7 separate regions of the Homo sapiens genome follow, and regions 2, 3, 4, 5, 6 and 7 are each linked to region 1. Evidence: promoter capture Hi-C in human tissues and cell types (Jung and others, 2019). All regions are on one chromosome and are shown on one strand. Each heading gives the region's core, a stretch centred on a gene start or on the middle of the fragment in contact. The rest is flanking DNA. Distances are from core to core; before and after follow the strand shown. Region 1 holds the start of ZNF732 (zinc finger protein 732). Region 2 overlaps ZNF595 (zinc finger protein 595). Region 3 overlaps ZNF595 (zinc finger protein 595). Region 4 has its middle 19 kb from the start of ZNF718. Region 5 holds the start of ZNF721 (zinc finger protein 721). Region 6 overlaps ZNF721 (zinc finger protein 721). Region 7 overlaps ZNF718 (zinc finger protein 718).

The links. Contacts are between HindIII fragments. The study calls those that stand out against the background at their distance.
Region 2: a contact is called between a fragment that was not itself captured here and the fragment with the promoter of ZNF732 in region 1, in 4 of the 25 tissues and cell types used here (H1 embryonic stem cells, dorsolateral prefrontal cortex, mesenchymal stem cells and 1 more).
Region 3: a fragment that was not itself captured here is called in contact with the fragment with the promoter of ZNF732 in region 1 in 3 of the 25 tissues and cell types used here (IMR-90 fibroblasts, lymphoblastoid cells and mesendoderm cells).
Region 4: a contact is called between a fragment that was not itself captured here and the fragment with the promoter of ZNF732 in region 1, in 2 of the 25 tissues and cell types used here (dorsolateral prefrontal cortex and spleen).
Region 5: the fragment with the promoter of ZNF721 here is called in contact with the fragment with the promoter of ZNF732 in region 1 in 1 of the 25 tissues and cell types used here (spleen).
Region 6: a fragment that was not itself captured here is called in contact with the fragment with the promoter of ZNF732 in region 1 in 1 of the 25 tissues and cell types used here (lymphoblastoid cells).
Region 7: a fragment that was not itself captured here is called in contact with the fragment with the promoter of ZNF732 in region 1 in 7 of the 25 tissues and cell types used here (dorsolateral prefrontal cortex, heart left ventricle, liver and 4 more).

The regions. Positions count from the first base shown.
Region 1 is chr4:303,885-307,080 of GRCh38, reverse strand. ZNF732 (zinc finger protein 732) reads left to right here and starts at 1,607. Exons shown (of 4, transcript NM_001137608.3): 1 at 1,607-1,773. The coding sequence starts at 1,771. The HindIII fragment of the contact is 17,523 bases long and covers 1-3,196 here.
Region 2 is chr4:61,254-64,449 of GRCh38, reverse strand. The region is part of intron 3 of ZNF595 (zinc finger protein 595); the gene reads right to left. Among named protein-coding and RNA genes, the nearest start is that of ZNF595, 9.5 kb to the right of the region's middle. The HindIII fragment of the contact is 3,988 bases long and covers 1-3,196 here.
Region 3 is chr4:82,696-85,891 of GRCh38, reverse strand. It overlaps ZNF595 (zinc finger protein 595), which reads right to left. Exons shown (of 4, transcript NM_182524.4): 4 at 1-161. Among named protein-coding and RNA genes, the nearest start is that of ZNF595, 31 kb to the right of the region's middle. The HindIII fragment of the contact is 3,659 bases long and covers 1-3,196 here.
Region 4 is chr4:103,599-106,794 of GRCh38, reverse strand. It overlaps the pseudogene WEE1P1. Among named protein-coding and RNA genes, the nearest start is that of ZNF718, 19 kb to the left of the region's middle. The HindIII fragment of the contact is 6,771 bases long and covers 1-3,196 here.
Region 5 is chr4:497,682-500,877 of GRCh38, reverse strand. ZNF721 (zinc finger protein 721) reads left to right here and starts at 1,722. Exons shown (of 3, transcript NM_133474.4): 1 at 1,722-1,822. PIGG (phosphatidylinositol glycan anchor biosynthesis class G (EMM blood group)) reads right to left here and starts at 1,668. Exons shown (of 13, transcript NM_001127178.3): 1 at 1,389-1,668; 2 at 277-482. The coding sequence starts at 1,542. RefSeq lists enhancers at 707-1,570, 1,528-2,007, 1,571-2,436. The HindIII fragment of the contact is 23,753 bases long and covers 1-3,196 here.
Region 6 is chr4:465,905-469,100 of GRCh38, reverse strand. All of the region lies in intron 2 of ZNF721 (zinc finger protein 721), which reads left to right. It also overlaps the pseudogene ABCA11P. Among named protein-coding and RNA genes, the nearest start is that of ZNF721, 32 kb to the left of the region's middle. The HindIII fragment of the contact is 4,523 bases long and covers 1-3,196 here.
Region 7 is chr4:141,604-144,799 of GRCh38, reverse strand. All of the region lies in intron 3 of ZNF718 (zinc finger protein 718), which reads right to left. Among named protein-coding and RNA genes, the nearest start is that of ZNF718, 19 kb to the right of the region's middle. The HindIII fragment of the contact is 4,248 bases long and covers 1-3,196 here.

The DNA of each region.
Region 1 (3,196 bases), core at 358-2,857:
GGGCAAGGCTGTGAAGAGATCTGAATACATGGTGCTCTCTCTTCCTGTGGACCCATCATTCCTTGTTTACTGTCTGATATTTAAAAGGAAGAGGAACCCCTGAGAGAGGAGGCAGTCAGAAGCTAGTTAGGAAGATAGGGAGGGAGGGTCTCTGGAGAGGAAAAACACCCATGGGACCGCACATGCACCACCCTTGTAGCTAGTGGGAAGAAATGTGGTTAAGAACTTCCTCTTATGCCAGGATGTTGATCAGAAGGGACTGTCCCCACTTAGGCCCAGGTGTAATAAATCAACCTAAATGTCATTAACTTGACCCAGCTCCTTATAATGTTACCTAACATGACATAAGTATTTTGGTTTTAGCTTCACCCTTTCCACCTGCTGTGGGTTTCGCTTGGGCACTCATGGGTAATAACCAAGACGGAGTCACTGTGGTCAATCCCAGGCATGCTCAGATGCAACACTGTTATAGGGGAACTTTACCCCTCCCATTTGGGCAGAGCCCACAGAAGACTTCCTTGTTCTTGCCATATAAACTCAGCCCCATTTCTGGCACCCTGCTTTCATGTCCCCTCTTACTGCTGAGAGCTTTCCCTATGCTTAATAAATCCTATTCTGCTTTACTCACTCTCTGGTGTCTGTATGTCTTATTCTTCCTGGTCATGGGAAGAGAGCCCAGACGTGGTTGAACTGAGGAGACCACCACACTGGTACCAAACAGCAAGGGGGAGACAGTGATCTTCACGTGGACACTCTCAGCTTGCAGCCCCTGCTCTCTCTAGGGGCACTGTCCTACCCATCCTTCATCCTGAGGAGAAAAGTTGGTAGAGAGGCTGGTCCCTTACTTCCAGTAGAAAAGACGTGTTCAGGCCCTCACTTTCTTGAGGTCAGAGCCCTCATGGCTGTACTCGATGTGGCAGCCACCAGACATATGTAGCTACTGAGTACCTGGAATGTGGCTGGTTTGAGGTAAAATGTGCTGCAAACATAAAATACACAGTGAGTTTAGACGAATTAAATCAGAAATATACTTTATTTCTAATTATATATTGATCACATATTGAAACAATATTTTGGATACAATAGGTTAAAATATAAACAATTTCACTTGTTTCTTTTTATTATTTTTGATGTGGCTAATAAAAAATTGAAAATTCACAAATAGCTAACATTTTATTTTTTAAAGGATTGCTTCCCCCTTAAAATCCTACTCAAAAGACCAGAGGACAGAGAGGTTATGAAATCTAAAATATTAAAATAATTGTCATTATATTGTTTCCATTTGTGAACAAGTGTGTGTCTGTGTGTGTGCGCGCGCGTACGTACACAATTTATAAATGGGCGTAACCTTACACACCAGAAGGTTAAAAATGAACCCCCAACAGAGCCAAGCCTAGCACAGAAAGCCCTGACTGAAAATACCTGGAGGCACGAGTCTGTCTCTCTTGCCTCATTAAGTGCACTGTGTGGTGGCAAGTTCTGTCACTCAAATTCTGAGCGTGGGGAGCTTGGTATCTTATCCAATCAGAGCGCTGGATTGAGAACTGCCCAATCAGGCGCGCAGCCGGAGAGGAGGGGGCGGCATCCGGGATCTGGCGCGGCTTTTGCCTTTTGCGCCAGCGTGAGCTCGGTTAGGGTCTCCACGGCCGTGCTTTCACCCCTCAGGGAGGCGTCGGTGATTCGGTCACAGCCTCAGCCTCCGTCGCTCTGTGACCTGCGGGTATTGGATGATTCGTAGCTGAGACTCCGCTACACCCCTGAAGTGGGGAAATGGTGAGTGTGGGGGCAGGGCGTCCCAAGGCTGGGGAGGCCTCATCCGAACCGGCGGGAAATGGCGGCGGCGGGACGGAGTCTGCGAACGGAGTCTCCGCTGCCGCCGCTCAGCCCTCAGTCCTTGGTCCCTTCCGGTGAGGGACCCGGGTTCATGTCGGTCCCCGCAAGGCGGCTTTGGCCCAGCCTGCAGCCCTACTTGTGCAGCTCTGCGCCCGCAGCCCCGCACCTTCCCTGGGCTGTGGGGTGAGGAGGAGCTCATCGGGAAAACGCCTGCGTGGCGTGCGAGGTGCCCGCCTGGGAGGAGCTGTGGTCCGGTCGTCGAGTCCCTACTTTACCCTGTTCGGAATAAGATCGAGGCCCTATCAAAACATAGAGTTCATGTGAGCAAATGGGGACTAATTAATGGGACAGCCCCGGGCATGGCTTGTGGTTTGGGGGCTGCCAGCGGGTCTTGAAGGAAAAGCTTTTGTGAGGTGTGTGAGGAAGCGAAGCAAATCACCCGCCCGCTCCAACTTGCCCACCAGTCCCCTTGCCCTGTGCGCCTCCTCCGCGTGGCTGTTCCTGAGTGGCATCTTTTAGAATACGCTGGTGTGGGCGCGCACAGCGCTTCGCTGAGTTCTGTGAGTAGTTCTGCCACATTATTGAACTTGAGGAGGGTGTGGGCGCCCCTGGTTTGTAGGCAGGCGTTCAGAAATGAAGACGGGTGTCCAGAGGCAGGGACTGCCGTCTGCAGGGGGGGGGCAGCTGCGGGAAGAGCGCTGAGCTTGTGGGGTCTTCGCTGACTCTGGGTGGTGTCGTTAGTGAGTTGCTGGACACCGCGTTGGGGTTGGAGCATTGACTGATGTTGAGCAAACTCCGCACGTTTTCTGTCAGAAGAAAGACATGGCTGAGCCTGGGCTGGAGAAAGATGCCTGGTGTCTGCGGGAGGCGCGGCCGGGTTCTGCACATGTGCTGTCCCGCTGGGCACTGTCCTTTTCCTCCAGGTCTCCTTCCGGGGAGAGAAGGGACTGGGAACTTAGAGGAAAGGAGTTCTGAGAAACATCCCTTCCCTGCACCCTGCTGCCAGCCCCCACTTAATGCTAACCCACTCCCGAGGACGCTCACTGGCCATTCGCATTGCCACACTCCTCCCAGGACAGGGTTCTACCCTCAGGAATTGTGCCCGTGACAGCTTTGCTCCTAGGGTATTCTGCCAATAACACACACAGTGCCAGGAAGACTCCTGGCTCATTTCAACCCCAGACACTGGATCTATAGCAGGAACCTGTTTCCTTCCCCCACCCAGGCTTCTGGACCACCTGATCCTAATCTCCTCTGCCTTTATGGACACATGAATCAGTCAGATGGTAACCCTGCCTAGACCTGCACTTGTAGCACAAACTAGTCTTTTATTTAGTCAGTCCTGCCCTGTCCCCACCATGAC
Region 2 (3,196 bases), core at 253-2,752, 240 kb after region 1:
GTTCCTTATTTTTATACTATTGCAATTGGAAACTTTCTCTCTTTTTTGGAAAGTTTGTTGTTACTATATGGAAATGCAACAAATATTTGTATGTAGGGTCAGGTGCAGTGCCTCATTTCTGTAGTCCCTGCACACTTTCAGAGGCTAGAGGCCAAGGAAGGTGGATCACTTGAGCACAGGAGTTTGAGATGAGCCTGGGCAACAGAGTGAGACCCTATCTCAAACAAACAAAAAAACCCCACAAGTATTTTTATGTTGGTCATGTATCCTGATACCTTAATGAATGCATTTATTAGTTCAGTTTTTGTTGTTTCACTCTAGGGTTTTGTATATACGCATAATTATATTATCTACAAACAGTAACATTTTTACTTTTATTCCAAGCTGGAAAGCTTTGTTATTTTCCTTGTCTAATTGTTCTGATACAAACTTTCAGTAATATGTTAAGGTAGAAGCTGTGGCCCTGGAGGCATGCTTGTGGATCTTGGCCTCAGCTTTGGTCCCTGAAACAGCCCCATGTCTGTATATTTGAAGGATCTAACAACTCTTAACAGTTTCTATAAACTATGGCAAAACCCCATCTCCACTAAAAAAAACTATCTTTGGCAAGTAAAGATCTCCTTTTATTGGGTCCCCAGGCTGATAAGATTACCTCTGGGGTTGCTGAGAAGAAAGGTCATAGCTGGGTCACAAGGGTGCTGCTGGGTCACAAAACCCCATCTCCACTAAAAATACAAAAAAATTAGCCAGGCATGGTGGTGCGCGCCTGTAATCCCAGCTACTCGGGAGGCTGAGGCAGGAGAATCGCTTGAACCTGAGAGGCGGGGGTTGCAGTGAGCTGAGATTGTGCCACTGTACTTCAGCCTAGGGAACAGAGTGAGACTCTGTCTCATAAAATAAGTACATAAATAAAATAAATTTTAAAATGTAAAGGATGAGATAAAAATGTATACACTAACACAGTTAAGATATTGATGACAGAAATTGAAGTAGGTAAAAATAAATGAAAACATATTCCATTAGGATAACTAATATTGTCAAGGAATATTATCCAAAGTGATATGGAGATTCAATGTCATCCCTATCAAAATTTGAGTGGCATTTTTCACAGTAATAGAAAACACAATTGTAAAATTTAAGTGTTATCTTAAATAACTTAAAATAACCTGAGCAATCTTGAGAAAGAACAAAGCTGGGGACATCATACTTTCTAATTTCAAACTTTACTTAAAGGTCATGGTAATCAAAAGAGTATAGTATATTCATAAAAACAGATACAAAAACCAATGCAACAGAATAGGGAGCCCAGAAACATATCCATGCATACAAGGTCAACTAATCTTTGACAAGGCCACCAATAATATACAATGCAGAAAGTATAGTCTTGTCAATACATGGTACCAGAAAAACTGGATATCCACAAGCAAAAGAATAAAATTAGACTATACCATAAATAAAATTTTCTTATACCATACCCCAAAATTAACTCAAAATAAAAGACTTAAATGTAAGACATAAAAGCTTAAAACTCCTGAATAAAACATATGGAAAAACCTTGTTGATATTGGTCTTGGCAATTTGGTATGTCATCAAAAGCACAGCAACAGAAGAAAATACAAAAGAGTGGGACTGCATCAAAGTGTACAGCTTCTGTACAGTAAAGGAAAAAACCAAAATTTTAAAAAATCCTACACAATAGAAAAATATTTGCAAGCCATATATCTGATAGTTAATATCCAAAATGTGTAAGAAACTTCTGCAATTCAAAGCAAAACAATAATGATGATAACCTATTCAAAAATAGGCAAAAGGTTAGTTTTGTTTTTCCCACAAAGAAGACATACATACAAGGGAAATCCTGTATGCCACTAGTGAGATATAAATTGATAAAGTCATCATACAAATCAGTAAAAAATAAAAATGAAAGCATCACATAATTCAGCAATACCACCTCTGGGAATACTACCAAAGGAAATAAAATTAGTACCTCAAAGAACAATCTTCAGCCCCATGTTCATTTTAGTTTTGCTTAAAATAGCCAAAAAAATTTATATATATACACACACAGTAGAATACTATTCAGCCATAAAAGAGAAGGAAATCTAGCCATTTACAGCATTGATAGACCTTGAAGACATTACGCTAAGTGAAATAAGCCAAACACAAAGAAACTGCATGTTCTCAGTTAGATGAGGAATCTAAAAATGTAAACTCATAGGAACAGAGAGTAGAATGGTGGTTGTTAGTGCCTGAGGGTGGGAATATGAGGAGATGCTGTTCAAAGAGTACAAATGATTAGTTGTAAGTTGAGTAAGTCTGAGAAAGCTAATGTACATTAGCATTAGATTAGCAAAATAGCATTGTCTTTATAGTAATACTGTAAAGTATGCTTACAATTTGCTACAACAGTAGACCTCAAGTGTTCTTGTGACAAAAAAAAAAATGGTTATCTATGTGAGGTAATAAATGTGTTCATCAACTTGACATTTTGTTTCAAAATGTATATGCATATCAAATCATTACATTGTACAAATTAAATATAGTTATATAATTTTATCAGAAAAATCCGTATCACACAAACACAGATGTATGTTAAGTCCTCATTTAATGTTCAAAATAGATTCTTGAAAACTGCATCTTTAAATGAAACAATGTTGTTACATGCCATTCAAACATAACTTGTTTTTATTTATTAAACTCTGGTAAAATTAGTTTTCTTAAACAATATGTTGCTTTACTTACAGTTTCCAAGAACCTATCAATGATGTTAAGCGAGAATTTCCTATACACATATATGACTCATATAGGTATGTGTATGTGTGTGTGACACACAGTTCTACATATAGATGGATTATAGCTCAATGACAGAATCCCAGGAGGCTTCCTACTAAATAAGACAAAATTATAAGATAATAGTTTATCAAGAAATAAGGTAACAATTGAGAGCTTAATATACACTTAGGAATGTTCTAAGCCGGTTAATGACATAGTGCATTTAAGAAATCTAGAAGGCGGGCCAGGCACGGTGGCTCAGGCCTGTAATTCTAGCACTTTGGAAGGCAGAGGTGGGCGGATCACTTGAGGTCAGGAGTTCAAAACCTGCCTGGCCGACATGGTGAAACCCCGTGGCGGGCACCTGTAATCCCAGCTACTCAGGAGGCTGAGGCAGAAGAACCATTTGAACCCGGGAGGTGGA
Region 3 (3,196 bases), core at 305-2,804, 220 kb after region 1:
AACTCCTTTCTGCACCTTACACTCATTCACACGTTTACAGCCTTTTCTTAATTGTAAATTCTCATGTCCACATTTCTCGTATCTTTTCAGTATAAGTTTGTGGAATGAATCTTCTATCCCCTGCACTGGTGAAAGGTCTTGGCTGAAAGGAGAACATATAGCTGAAAGAAATAAAAATAACAAATTATCCCACTTACTAGATTCATATGAATATACTTTACGAATGTAATATCGAAAATGTATACAAACTGCATTAGTAAGATAGCATAACAAAATATCACAGGCCATAATTTCTTCACAGACATGTAACAAAGATATACAAACCAAAATACCTTTGTGCAAAATCTGTAAATGAGTTAACTGTATGCAACGCCTCAGGTAAGTACAATACTAAGAACCACATGGAACAGGAAGGAAAGTTTGTTATATTTACCCACCACAGCTTTCCTCCTCCCCAATATAGCATTGTGCCTATAGGAGTAAACTGTCAACTCCTGGCTTCTTACTTAGAAGAAAAATACTGATACACATATCCTTACTTCTGGCTTTCTGGGGTCTTTACAAAATCTGGTTTCTGTCTCCAACAACACAGAGAGCTGAGAGAAACGGTGCTATACTTTGGAAGAACAGCTTGGGTCTGCTAAGACCAAACGTAAATGTTTCAGGAGCAGGCTGCAGTGTTAAATACAGGGAATAGGTAGAAGAGTGACTAGAGACCATAAGAAGAAACATGAATAATCCCTTTTCACTGAAAAACAAACACAAAATTCCAGACAAGACACATCCTTAGAACATGTATGAGAGGCTCCCATTATCTCTATCAAAGACAACAGGTTTCAGACTATGTCAGGACAAGGCAACACTGTAAAGATTGTGACAAATACCTTTTTGTTAATGTTCAAATAACAAACAGATGTTACAATATATACAAAATATTAGGGCAACATGGCCCAATTAAAAAATTTAAAACTTTTCAGAAAACAACCATAAGAAATGAAGATGTAGAAATTTTAAAAAATTAACCTGAAAAATCCTCAATGAGCTAAAGGGGAACACATACAACTAAATATAATAAGACAAATGAGGTATCGATGAAAACGTTAAAATATAAAAAACAAATTGTGGATGTGAAAAATACAAAAGTAATGAGTGAGAAAGTTCCAAAAGTAAAATAAGGATGTAAAAAATGAAGAAGCTCAACAAACTTCAACTAGGATACATACACAGAGATTTATATAAGCAAAGTTTCAAAAGTCAAAGACAGAGAATCTTAGGAGTTGCAAGATAAAAGTGATGTGTCATTTATAAGTGTGGTCTTACATAACCAGTGAATCTGTCAACAAAATTTTTTTAGACAAGAGGGAATTGTGATATAGTTAAAATGCTGAAAGAAAGCTTGTAAGCAGGAATACCATAACATGCAAAACTGTCCTAAAAATGAAGAAAAAGTAAAGCTCTTTCAAGATAACCAAATGTTGAAAAAGTGTATTAGCACAACACCTGCCTTAGAAAAGAAATGCTGAAGAAAGTATCTTCCACTGAAAATAATATGATGCAAGAAAACAAAACATAATCATATGAAAATAAGTAACTTTTTGGGAAAGACATGAACATATACAAATGTAAGGTTCTGTACCATTATCATGATAGTGCAGAAAACATTTTAATTATTCTCTAAAATTTTAAAGAGCATAAAAATGATCATAAACTGTTCATCATAATCTGTTAATAAATAAGCAACATAAAAATATAATTAGTGACATTAATAACAAAGTTGAGGGCAGATGTAATGAGGAAGAATTTTCAAACGCAACTGAAATAACCAGTTTAAAATGTATTATTTTAAGAAATTTTATGTAATTTCCAAAATACCAAAAAGTAAGTATCTGTATGGATACATGAAAAAATAAGTAAAAATCTATCAACACAAAAGTCAAAAGGAAGACAGAAAAGAAAATAAGGGACAAAAATACAATAATCAAGTAAAACAATTAATAAAATAACATGAATAAAATAAGAAGTAAAAATCTATCCACACAAAAGTCAAAAGGAAGACAGAAAAGAAAATAAGGGACAAAAATACAATAATCAAGTAAAACAATTAATAAAATAACATGAATAAGCCTTTCCATTTCAGCAAATTATTTAAATATTTATGAAGTAATCTTTGCATTGGAAATACATGCAAATAAATTTATTTAAGAAATCAAAAAACAAGATACAACTTGTTTTTCTTTCTTTCTTTCTTTTTTTTTTTTTTTTTTTTTTTTTTGAGACGGAGTCTCACTCTGTCACCCAGGCTGGAGTGCAGTGGCGTGATCTCGGCTCACTGCAAGCTCTGCCTCCTGGGTTCACACCATTCTTCCACCTTGGCCTCCTGAGTAGCTGGGACTACAGGTACCCGCCACCACGCCCGGCTAATTTTGTTTTTGTATTTTTAGTAGAGACGGGGTTTCACCATGTTAGCCAGTGATCTCAATCTCCTGACCTCGTGACCACCCACCTCGGCCTTCCAAAGTGCTGGGATTACAGGCGTGAGCCACTACACCCAGCCACAACTTGCTTTTTCACAAGAGTCACTTGAGATCTAATGATTAAAGGAGACTGAAAAAGGCAAGATGAAAGAAAAAACTTTATGCAAAGAACCAAACAGAAGAGGTCAAAATTATATTACCCAAAGTACATCTAAAGTCAAAAACTCCCATTTCATAAAACTTATTTTAACTAAAAGCTCATAAGAGACAAAGAAGAACATAAACTATATTAAAAATGTTCATTTACTAGGAAACCCTGAAAAATGTGTGTATATACATATATTTGTGTGTGTGTGTGTATGTGTGTCTTACATTAGGGTTCCAAATATATAAAGCAAATACTGACAGAAGTAAAGCAAGACATAGAGAGCAATATAATTATAGTAGGATATTTCAATAGCTCAATTTCTGTAATGAATAATCAGAAAAGAATACTCAAGGAAATAGAAGACTTCAAAGCAGTATAAAACAATTATGTCTAATAGAATTGTAGAGAACTCTTAAACAAAAGCAGAATACATACCCATCTGAATAGCTCATAAAATATTCTCCTTGATAGACCACCTGTTAGGCTACAAAAAAGTCTTAACAAATTTTTTAAAATAGGAACTTTACAGATTACTTTTAATGACCAAACTGGAATGAGAATAGAAATTAATTAA
Region 4 (3,196 bases), core at 241-2,740, 200 kb after region 1:
CACTTGTCTGCTTGGGCAGATGCTCATATGCTTACACAGAATGGATACCGTGATGGTGGAAGGTTTGTTGATGCTATAAGTGAAAATTACCGAATCACGAGTTACTTTAAAGAAGCAGAGTTGAAGGATCTCCTTCTGCAAGTTGGCCGGGGCTCGAGGTATATTCATTCAATGTCTTTAATTCACAGGGATAAGGAACCTTGTCTCAAACCTCAATCCCCAGTGCTGCCTCTGAAGAAGGAGATGAAGATGACTGGGCATCCAACAAAGTTACCTGTAAAATTCGTGATTGTGGGTATGTAACAAGGATCTCTAACCCACAAGTTGAAGAGACTGATAGTCTTTTTTTTTTTTTGCAAGTGAAGTTTTACAGGAGAATTATACCATCTACCAAAAGCAGATATCTTGCACTTCCCCTCACAGTGGTCTGTGCTGCTGGTCTGTGCTCTTCCCAGGAATGGAGACCAATGGCATGGAATCAGAGAGAATAGATTACCTCAGATACCACAAGTGCTTTCCCAAGAATTTTCAGAGTTGCTAAAAGTTATGATTCATTCATATCCAGAGAGAAGACCCTCAGCAATGGCCCTCTAAAGCATTCACTGCTGCTGTCTGCTTCTAGGAAGAGTAGAGAACCACTGTGTATAGGATTGAATGTTGAAACTTTCAAAAATACACTTTTACAAAAAGAACTCACGAGGGCATAGATGGTAAAGGCTGCAGCTGAGGAAGGAGCACTCTTCACTGATCAGAGGCCACTAGGTCCACCACGCATAGGAACACAACATCTTGGCTTATTAGAAAGAAAATGAAGTGCTCTGTCAGCCTTCTAGTAAACTACTCATTTCCCACCTACTCATCCCGCAAAAAACACTATGAAAAAAGCAAGCTAGGTCGAAATCACTGCTAGAATCCAATTTGCAATTACTCTCTCTATTGGTGTCAGTGGTTTTACTGATTAGGACTTTTATTTGTGAATTACAATTGAAAACTGTATTTTGACCATAGCTTTTTCAGGCTTTTATATAGTCTTACCAGTCTGTCTTCTGTAAAATGTCAGTCACTGGCGGATGTTAACGCAGTCTTTGCAAAATTAACCGCTGTGGTGGTGTGTTGCTCTCAGTGTGCTGTTGTCCTGTAATGAAGGTATCTTTTCCCGCGGTGGCCTGAAGAAAGGATTCAAGGGCTTGATCACAAACATATTCTCTCAATAAGGCAAATGCTAAAACCGCCCATTACTACTCAGCCTTCAATGCACCTGTGTATGAAATTTCTCTCTCTCTCTCTCTCTATATATATATGTTTTAAGTGAATTATACTTGTATATCCAACTGGGAGCACTTTGTAGCCTTAGCATGAGACATGGGATGATAATTCTGTGGAAGTATTGCCTTATAAATTTGCTATTTCAGTTTTGTCTCTGCTGTAAACTTTTAGCATTAAACAATTACTGTTGTTAATAGGCTTTCTTTTTGAAACAAATATGTAAAGTGTACAGCTGGTCTTGATGAAAAGCAGCTATTGGCCTTTTTTTTTTCTTTGAACTTTAAAGCTTTGGAATTTTGTATTAATCCAGTATAATAATTACTGAGTTTTGTAATTTTGTTCTGGTAATGAACTTCCCTGACTCTTAAAAAAATACCTCCTTCCCAATTTTGTATTTGATCATATTGTTAGTCTGTTGTTCAATGTTTTGTCTGGTTTCTCTCAAGTGTATGTGTATATAAACTTATCTTGGTGATCCTCTACACAGCTGTTTGTAATGCCAGAATTACTTCTGACATTCCAAGTTTTTTACAAAATAGATTTTTTTCTGTGATTAGCCGTTTGACTACTAATACTGGCTAATGTATTTTGCAAAAAAAAAAAAAAAAAAAGAATTTGTCCATGGCTTTCTCACTGATTTTGTTGTAAAATATGTTTGTATTTGTCTTTGACTTGTGTTTCATTAATATTGACTGGCAATATTAAAAGTCACCCTGAGTTTAACTTAATTGTCTAGAAAAAAAAAAGAAAAAGGGTTTATGGGTTGGACTACCAGGCAGAAGGCCTGGTGTGAGCACAGGTGTAGGTTTAGGGAACAAGCACAGCCATGCTGAGGAGGAGAGAGAAGGTGATGACCAAACACAGGAAAATCCAAAAACCCAGAAAGTCAAGGAGCCAAATGAAAGCCTTTTATCCTGCATCAACCATTTAACCTCATAAACACTGCAAGTGAACATGGTCTTTTAGAGATATTGATAGTTCTTATTTTCTTGTAATCCTGTAAAGGAAATGGATTTTTGACATCAGACTGTCCCCAGGAAATTTTTTCACCAGCCTGTCCCCAGGAATTAATAACAATTAAAATTATAATTTTAATAAATTAAAATTTATCCAAAATTAGAATATTATTTTTAGGAAGGCATCCTTCTGGATTAGGCTGCTAGGAAATTGAGTTAGTTGCTGTCAGTCATTCACACCCTGCACAGACATTAATTTACCAGAGCCTTGGTATGGAATGGGAGGAGATTATTATAAGCAGGACTGGCTGGTGGCCAGAGTGTGAAGGGGACAGAAAAAACACAGGGAGGCTAAACCTGGAGACAGCTCCAAACCCAGAAGACACTGTTATTATGCTTATTTTACAGAGGAGGAAACTAAAGCACAGGCAGGTCAAGACCATGCTGCCCCAGAGTCGAGGAGCCAGGATCTAAACCCAGCCAGCTTGCCTTGCCATCAGAGCTCACACACATAGTTTGTTCTGTAGTTATGCAGGATTGCACTGTGGCTAAGTACACAGACTCTGGGTTCACATCCCAGCTGCTCTGCTATTTCCAGGTTTGTGACCATGGGCAAGTTACTTGCCTGTGCTCAGTGTCTCCTGTAAAGTGAAGATAGCAGTACCTGCCTCATGGAGTCCCTTAAATGAGTTAATAGTGTAACATGTTATGGTGGCATGCACACAGTCACCATCTAGTAAGTATAGTCTATTATGCCTGAACCCCAGATGGGCACATGTCCTTGAAAAGTCTAAAATTCAGAACTCTGAAATCCAGCCTCTGAGATCCTGGAATCCTCGAGCAGCATTCTAACGTCTCCTGGCTGCAGAATTGTATGTTACTTTCTAGGGCTGGGAGGTGTATTTGTATTAATGTAGTGTAATAATATGGGCACCTGTCCACATAGTTCATCCCTATAGTAGGCAAATAAGGTG
Region 5 (3,196 bases), core at 473-2,972, 190 kb before region 1:
GGCATATCTTGGGGTAGGTTAGCCTGGATGATCTTGCTCTAAATCTTTTATATTTGCCATGAAGCATGAGCTTTGGCTACTTGACATGGGGCACAAATGATGGGTCTCAGTTCCATCCCGTGTGAGGCTCCTTCAACATTCTATTGCCCCAGCCAACTGACAGCACAAAATTTCCACTTTCTTAAAATTGCAACTCCAAGCGAAAGACTACAGAGACCCCCTCTAAATCTTCAAAACAGCCAAACCATGATTCATAAAACATTAAGGCAAACTTACCTTGATTCGAGGCATAGTAACTGTAGGTGGCTTTGCTTCAGCCACAAAACTGTGAGATGCTCCTTTTTCCACAAGGTAAGTTGTGTAGGGCATAAATTTCACACCCTTTGACCCAAACACAAAATCATCTCTCAAGGCATCTATCAGAACAATAACAACTTTACTGAAGAGAGGTGGTGGCAGCGTGGTCCAGTTAGAACTGGCTCCTAAGTGTTTGAAAGAAAAAAAAGGAAATTGAACTCTAAACTTTCCTTAGCATCAAGCACCTTCACAATCTAGCTTCTACCTACTTCTCCAGCACATACCCTGCGATATCTACATAACCCAACCCAAAAGGAGGCGACTTGTACTTGGTAGGTAGTGCTGGGGGGAAAGGACGGGGGTTAACAGGAGTAATCTTAGGGACCCACAGTAGCAAGCAGTGAATTATCCTCAGTATGGTGAAGAGTACTGGGGTAGGAGAATCCCTACGTAAGGGTCCTGGAATGGGACATTTAGGGAGCTTGACCTAAAACGCAGAGCTGCAGCTACGGGATGGCTGGGCGTTTACATACTGCGTTTACATGGTCAGCGGCTGGCGATGTGTGCAAGTGGTCCAGAACCAGGGCGCCTTTACTTGCTGTATATGGCTGGGTAGGTGAAGCCTAGGAAGAGGCCTAACGCAGAGAGGCCTTAGCCCCTAGGCAGGGAAAACATCTTGGAGGAATATAAGAGACCAAAACGCGAGGGGATCGGCAGGGGTCTTATCTGTTGTGTGCTAGGGGGCAAAAAGGGCGCCTATAACGGGGAGTGACCCAAAGGCTGCTCAGGAAAGGGGCGGGAGCTCTGGACGAGTAGAAGTGGAGAGGCTGGATCCCAGGTATGGACACAGCTTACTTTGTGGTGATCAGGAAGGAAGGTCGAAGTGGGGCCAGTAGAGGTGGTTGCCACAAAGTTGTAAGAATACAGAAAAGAGACGCTGGAGCGGTTAAAAAAAATTTCTGAGGTGGGGACCATAATGGAAGAGACCACCGGGGAGCGCCGAGAAGAAATCCGAGCAGCGAGGCTCAGAAAAAAGGTCTTCTAGGGGATGTGGGGTCAGGGGAGCGGAGACGCCGGGGAGGGGTCCGTACCAGCCGAGGGTTCGGGCGCTGGGGGCTCCGCTCCGTGTTCCGCTCTGGCAGAGGAACGAACGGGAGCCGGGAAGAATCCCCGAAGGAAGACCGCGATCCCTAGCACCTCGATCGCTACGCAACAGGTAGCGAAAGTCCCGGAGCCCAGCCGCATCGTGGACACGCTAGGCTGGATGCGGAACCGACCCCACCTGGAGCCTCGCCCTGCTGCAGCCGCGCTTCCGGCTCCAGGTAGCCGCCTCTAAGCAATAACGCCAGGCCTTATCGTCGCAGCGACAGTGGCGTCACGTCCGCCGGCGCGCCACAGCAGCGCGTCACTTCCGCCAGCCCGCCACAGCGGGGCGTCACCTCGGACATACGAACAGCGGGCGGTGTTCCCGGCTCCGTGGGGCCGTCTTCCCGGCGAGTCCGCGACGGTCGCCGCCCACGGCGAGGTACGAGGTTTTAAAAAGTTTTTAATTTGGAAGGCAGGGTGCAGTGGCTCACGCCTTTAATCCCAGTACTTTGGGAGGCCGAGGCGGGCGGATCACGAGGTCAGGAGATCGAGACTATCCTGGCCAACATGGTGAAACCCCGTCTCAACTAAAAATACAAAAAATTAGCGGGGCGTGATGGCGGGTGCCTGTCGTCCCAGCTACTCGGGAGGCCGAGGCAGGAGAATCGCTTGAACCTGGGAGGCGGAGGTTGCAGTGAGCCGAGATCGCGCCACTGCACTTCTGCCTGGCAACAGAGCGAGACTGCGTCTCAAAAAAAAAAAAAAAAAGAAAATTCAACCCAATACCTCAGACAACTGGTAAATATCTTAATGATTAACTTCGTTTTAAAGATGCCACATGAGTGAGATCATGAGGTATTTGTCTTTCTGTGTCTTATTTTGCTTACATGATATCCTCAGGTTTATCCGTGTTGTGGCAAATGATAGGGTTTCATTCTTTTATTAGAGCTGAATAGTACTCCATTGTGTATATATACCACATTTTCTTTTTTCTGAAAGGAAAATCTTGGGGCCCCAAAATTACTAAACTAAGGGAAAAGACAAGCTCGGAACTGCTCAGGACAAACCTGCCTCCCATTCTATTCAAAGTCATTCCTCTGCTCACTGAGATAAATGCATATTGATAGCCTCCTTTGGAGAGGCTTATCAGAAACCCAGAAACTGCAACCATTTGTCTGTCACCTACCTGTGACCTGGAAGCCCCCTCCCTGTTCCAAGTTGCCCCCGCCTTTCTGGACAGAACCAATGTCCTTCTTTTTTTTTTTTTTTTTTTTTTTTTCTTTTTCTTTTCAGATGAAATCTCACTCTGTCGCCCAGGCTGGAATGCAGTGGCGTGATCTCAGATCACTGCAACCTCTGCCTCCCGGGTTCAAGCAATTCTCCTGCCTCAGCCTCCTGAGTAGCTGGGATTACAGGTGCGTGCCACCACGCACGGCTAATTTTTGTATTTTTAGTTGAGACGGGGTTTCACCATGTTGGTCAGGCTGTTCTTGAACTCCTGACCTCGTGATCCGCCCGCCTCGGCCTCCCAGAGTGCTGGGATTTACAGGCATGAGCCACCGCGCCCGGCCTGTTTTTTTTTTGTTGGTTTGTTTTTGAGACGGAGTCTCGCTCTGTCGCCCAGCCTGGAGTGCAGTGGCACCATCTCCGCTCACTGCAAGCTCCGCCTCCCGGGTTCACGCCATTTTCCTACCGCAGCCTCCCGTGTAGCTGGGACTACAGGCGCCCGCCGCCACGCCCGTCAAATTTTTTTTTTTTTTTTGTATTTTTTAGTAGTGACGGGTTTCACCATGTTAGCCAGGATGGTCTCAAT
Region 6 (3,196 bases), core at 268-2,767, 160 kb before region 1:
AACCTGCAAGTATTTACATGTTGGTTATGTATCCTGATACCTTAATGAATGCATTTATTAGTTCAGTTTTTGTTATTCTACTCTAGGGTTTCATATATATGCATGATCATATTATCTACAAACAGTAACATTTTTTCTTCTTTTGCAGGCAGGAGAGCTTTGTTCTCCTTTTTCTTGCCTAATTGTTCTGATACAAACTTTTGGTAATAATGTTAAGATAGAAGCTGTGGTCCTGGAGGCATGCTTGCAGATCTTGGCTTCAGCTGTGGTCCCTGAAGCAGCCCTGTGTCTGTATATTTTAAGGATTTAACAATGATTACAGTTTGTATAATCTGTTTTTTGACAGGTAAACATCTCCTTTTGTTGGGTCCCCAGGCTGATGAGATTACCTCTGGGGTTGCAGAGAAGAAGGGTTGTAGCTGAGTCTCAAGGGTGCTGCTGGGTCTGCTGTGTGGCCTGCCTTTGAGGGTTGTGTTACCAGAGATTTAGACAGTCACAGATTCTTTCTGGGCCCTGGAAAGATTAGATTTCCTTGAGGACATTAATCTATATGGCAGGCAGTAGGATTGGGTTTTGAAATTTGTCTGCATATGATGGCCCAAATACCAGGTGTATAAATGGGTTTAGCTTTTACTGACTACCTGGGAACAGTTTTTTTTTTTCTTTTTTTTGTGACGGAATCTGGTTCTGTCGCCCAGGCTGGAGTGTAGTGCCATGAACTTGGCTCACTGCAACCTCCGCCTCCCAGGTTCAAGCGATTCTCCTGCCTCAGCCTCCCAACTAGCTGGGAGTACAGGCGCTTCCATCACACCCAGCTAATTTTTTTTTTTTTTTGAGTCGGAGTCTCACTCTGTCACCCAGGCTGGAGTGCAGTGGTGCTATCTCAGCTCACTGCAAGCTCCGCCTGCTGGGTTCATGCCATTCTCCTGCCTCAGCCCCCCAAGTAGCTGGGACTAAAGGCGCCCGTCACCGTGCCAGGCTAATTTTTTGTATTTTTAATAGAGACAGGGTTTCACCGCGGTCTCGATCTCCTGACCTCGTGATCCGCCCGCCTCGGCCTCCCAAAGTGCTGGGATTACAGGTGTGAGCCACCGCACCCGGCACGCTCAGCTAATTTTTTGTATTTTTAGTAGAGACGGGGTTTCACTGTGTTAGCCAGGCTGGTCTTGATCTCCTGACCTCCTGATTTGCCCGCCTCGGCCTCCCAAAGTGCTGGGCTTACAGGCGTGAGCCACCGCGCCCAGCCCCTGGGAACAGTTTTTATAGGTCTCTCTGTGGGCCTCTGAGTGTGTACGAGTGGCCACGGACTGTGACTACAAATGGCTTGAACTGAGTCACAGGGCTGCTTCAAGGAGCACAACTGAGGCCAGGATCTGCAGGCCTGCCTCCAGGGTCATGGCTGGGTGTGTCTTCCTGCAGGTCTCTTGATGGGAAGGACCATTTCTGGACTACAGCTGAGATTGAGAACTGCTTCATAATCCTCAGTAAGACCAAGCTGCATGCACCATTTTCTTGTCTGTAGCCATGTCTATGGGCTCTGGAGTTGGCCACCTGGGTGAGGGCCTGCTTTTTCCAAATAACCCTTCCTTGGTCTTTGACTCCACTGAGGTTTCACAACCCTAACTATAGGCAAGCACCATTCTACTTATGTTTTCTAGGAATTTACTACTTAAAATATCTTATGTAAGTGGAATCATACATTGTCACTTTGTTAGTGTCTTATTAAATAATGGTGTCTAAATAGTGTCTTATTAAAATAATGGCTTTAAGATTTATCCTTATTGTATGATCCGACAAGATATTTTCATTTGATTCTAAAGAATTTTTCATTGTATGTGTAAGCCATGTAAGCCACATCCTTTTTTGTTTGTTTGTTTTTTTTTTGAGATGGAGTCTTGCTCTGTCACCCAGGCTGGAGTGCAGTGGCGCAATCTCGGCTCACTGCAAGCTCCACCTCCTGGTTTCACACCATTCTCCTGCGTCAGCCTCCAGCTGGGACTACAGGTACCTGCCACCACGCCCGGCTAATTTTTTTTTTGTATTTTTAGTAGAGACGGGGTTTCACCGTGTTAGCCAGGATGATCTCTATCTCCTGACCTTGTGATCTGCCTGCCTTGGCCTCCCAAAGTGCTGGGATTACAGGCGTGAGCCACCGCGCCCGGCCAAGCCGCATCCTTTTAAATTATTCATCTGTTGAAGGATGTTTGAGGTTTTTCACTTTTTGGCTTTTGTAAGTAATATGGTTTGGATCTGTGGCGCCATTCAAATCTCACATCAAATTGTAAGCCTGAATGTTGTAGGTGGGGCCTGGTGGGAGGTGACTGGATTATATGGTTGGATTCTCATGAATCATTTAATACCATTGCCTTTGGTACTCTCTTTGCCATAATGAGTGATTTCTCCTGAGATGTCACTTTCTTTCTTTGTTTTTTTGATATCTCATCCATCGCAGTTTAATCTACAAATGAAATTTCTACAGAAACAGGAACTATTTTAAGAAAGAAAAAAATCCCTCATTCAGACTTCTTTGGTAGTGGTAATGGCTGCAAATTTGCAGCATTTAGAAAACTACACTATCAACAAGCTTTCCTTTATGAACTGAGATGTACAAAATGTAGAAAGCAGATGAAAGTGAATTATTTCTTCAACATTTTAGTAAAACTTCTGATAATCAGAGTTCAAAGCACATAACAACTCAAGCATAAATGAAGATGGAGAGCCTGGGGAGTTTGATTTCTTAAATTTTCCAAAAAGGTATTATTGCAAACATATAGGATTTCCCCCCATTTTAACCTTACCAGTTTCAAAGGAAAGTAAAGGTACTGGATTACATGAAGACAGCATGTGTGCGAGTGCACACGCATGCAGGGTGGCAGGTAGAGTGTCTTAATTCCTTTTTCTTACTACCCAAGTCTCACTTCACAGAAATCATTAGGTAAAGGAAAACCAACGAGGAGTTCTGCAGTTTTCTTTTAATAACTGAGGCTGAGGCAGGAGAATCGCTTCAACCCTGGAGGTGGAGGTTGCAGTGAGCCAAGATTGTGCCACTGCATTCCAGCCTGAGCGATAGAGTGAGACTCCACCTCAAAAAAAAAAAAAAAGAAAAGAAAAACGACAACAAAAAAGATAAAAGGCAGAGAAATAACTTATGACTACCATTTTGTTCATTGTTTTCTGACCATGTAGTAGTTTCTGT
Region 7 (3,196 bases), core at 402-2,901, 160 kb after region 1:
AAATCAAACCAAGAGAGTAATTCCATTTACGGTAGCCACAAATTAAAATTAAATACCAGGAATGAACTTAACCAAAGAAGTGAAAGATCTCTATGATGAATACTATAAAACATCGATGCAAGAAATTAAACAAGAGAAAAAAAAGGAAAGATATTTTATGTTCATGAATAGGAAGGATCAGTATTATTAAAATTTTCATACTACCCAAAATGATCTACAGATTTAATGCAATTCCTATCAAAGCATCAATGACATTCTTCACAGAAATAGGAAAAACAATCTTATAATGTAGACAGACCCATAAAAGACTCAAAATAGCCAAAGCCATTGTACCAGAAAAGAAACTGGAGGAATCATAGTATTTGAATTTAAATGATACAACAGAGCTACCGTAATTAAAATGGCATAAAACTGATCAGTAAAACAGTAGAGCGAATGCAGAGATAAATCCATATTACAGCAAACTTCTTTTTGACAAAGCTGTCAGGAATATATTGTTACCGCTAGAAAGTATCCGGGTTCTTGGCATCTTGAACAAAGAATTGGACAAAATACACAAAGCAAGGAAGGAATAAAAGGATTTACTAAAAATGAAAGTACACTCCACAGTGCGGGCCCGAGCATAGGGGCTCGAAGGCCCCCTTACAGAATTTTTGGGAGCTTAAATACCACCTAGAGTATTCCATTGGTTACTTTGGGTATGCCCAACGTAAATGGAGAGGGTGAAGTAAATTTAGTTATTAACGGTGGATGCCCTATGGAGAGGATATTTCCTGTTATAGCTGAAGTGTGAATTGGGCTTATGGTCCCTGCCTCCAGACCGTTTTCCTGCCTCATGTCCCCCGAGAGATGTGATCCCCATAAATCCTTATAGGAGACGGGGGGGTCAACGGTCTTTTTCTTTCTGTAACTGCTTTATGCTGGCTTGGGGCATAGTCCCTGTCTATTGGGGATCACAGTACTCTCGCCCTGTTCTGTCTAGTGGAGGCAGGGTAGTTTCTTGATGGCCAGGGGTGTGTTTTCACCTGGAACTGGCTGGAGATTTCACTGCATGATCAGTGAAGCTTGATGGTCTCTAGGCAAGAGCAAACGTGTTTGGTTAAAAGATATAATGGGGGTGGATACCTATGCTGTTAAGAATGTTTGTTACAGAGATTTGCAGGAGAAAAAAAACCTGATTTGTTCTAGAATTTATGTGTTTCCTTAAAGTCTTGGCACAAGCAACTCCATTTTGTTTTGGTCTGTTGGTGCCTAGTGTATGAGCTTAGTCCAAAACAATGGCATCCCAGAATTTTGTTTAAAAACTTCCCCCTTGGCCGTGCACACTGGCTCACGCCTGTAATCCTAGCACTTTGGGAGGCTAAGGCAGGTGGATCACAAGGTCAGGAGTTCAAGATCAGCCTGGACAAAATGGTGAAACCCCGTCTCTACTAAAAATAGAAAAATTAGCCAGGCGTGGTGGTAGGCACTAATCCCAGCTACTTGGGAGGCTGAGGCAAAGAATTGCTTGAACCTGGGAGGCAGAGGTTGCAGTGAGCCAAGATTACACCACTGCACTCCAGTCTGGGTGACAGAGACTCCGTCTCAAACAAAACAAAACGAAATTCCCCCTTTTTGGTTAGGTTCTCACTTAGATTAGTGTGTGTCCAAAATTTAGGGCCTTAGAGCCACTCTCAGTTACCATCATTTTGGATTTCTGGTCTCAGCACATTATTTATAGGTTACGGTGTTCTCATGGTTGCACGTTTCTTTTAGCTTCTGTTATTCTAGTTGAAGAGAGACCATATGACATCCTAGAGATGGCTGCATGCAAGCATTTAAAACCTTTGAGAGAATACAGCACACAAGGGAGACTATTATTATGACTATTGGGAGGAAAATACCAAGAGTTCACAGTATGCTCCTTACTCAAGGTTTCCATAAACCAAACCTCGTAAAATTAAATAGATCAAAGAATGAGCCAGATAAAGAGTTTACTTACTTAACTAAGCAATTTCTTTGTTAATCCCCTACCACTGAATTTCTATAATCTTCATTTGATGTATTTCTCCATAAGCCACAAGTGCCAGCAGCTGCACAGGTACCTCTTTGTTTAGTCAATTCTATTATAACTTTCACAAAAGAATTTAAAGTCTATTGTGTAACTGTAGCCTTTACAGTAGAATTTGCTATAGAGCCTATCATGAGGGATACCTTTTTAAATCATTGCTTCTTTTACTTTAAACCATGGGAAAGGACCTAACAAATGATGCCCCTCTAGAAGAGTGAAGGCCTCCTGGCAATGGTCTCTTTAGCCCACGGTGTGGGTTAACAGGAGTGAACCAATGTTTTGTTTTTGGACTGATTATGAGGCAATGTATGTACCATTAAAGTTTCTTACTTACACTGACTGGGCTTTCATCTTTTATTTATCTAAGTATAAGCTTATCCATATATAAGGCTGGCTGCAAACTCCTTCACAAATAGAAGTATACTCCATAAATGCACTTAACAGATCCCTTTTCTACTTTTAATGTTTGTAGAAGCATAAGAAAAAAAATTCAAAGGTAAGAGTTTTATGATAGAAGTTTTAATTTGTGAACTTGGGAAAAGCTGTTTACATCAAGGATGCCATCTTCTTGGGAGAAATCTCCCTGGTTAGCTTCACCTCAAGGGTTCCAATGGCTGCACAGTTCCAAAAATGTGGAGGGACCCTTATCAAAACCCGTTAACCTAAAGCCCAAAGTCCTGACATTTTGTTGTAGTGTGGGTGGCAAGGACAGTTTTTCTCCTATGTTCTCAGAAGATTTAAACCATAAAAAGCTTTTTTACCTGCTGGAAATATACTGTAGCATAATAATCTCAGCCTCCTTGCATAGTAAAGCTTTTATACAACAGAAAACATGCATTGAAAATAACAACTGAATGAAATCCCTTTATAAAATGTTTAAATGGCCCACCAGGTGACCAAATATACCTGAAGCTTTAATTGTATTGTATTGTTTTGGTATTTAATTTTTGTTTTACTTGTGTTAGTAGGTCAGTAGCTTTATACAAGGAAATTTGATTATTTCTGCAGTTTATAATAACATAATAACCATAATTATAATTGACAGCATATACTATTTTAGAAATCTCATACAGTTTTGGAACATATATTAGTATTATTCACAAAAATATAACCTAAAGCAGATTGAACATCATTTTAGCAATCACA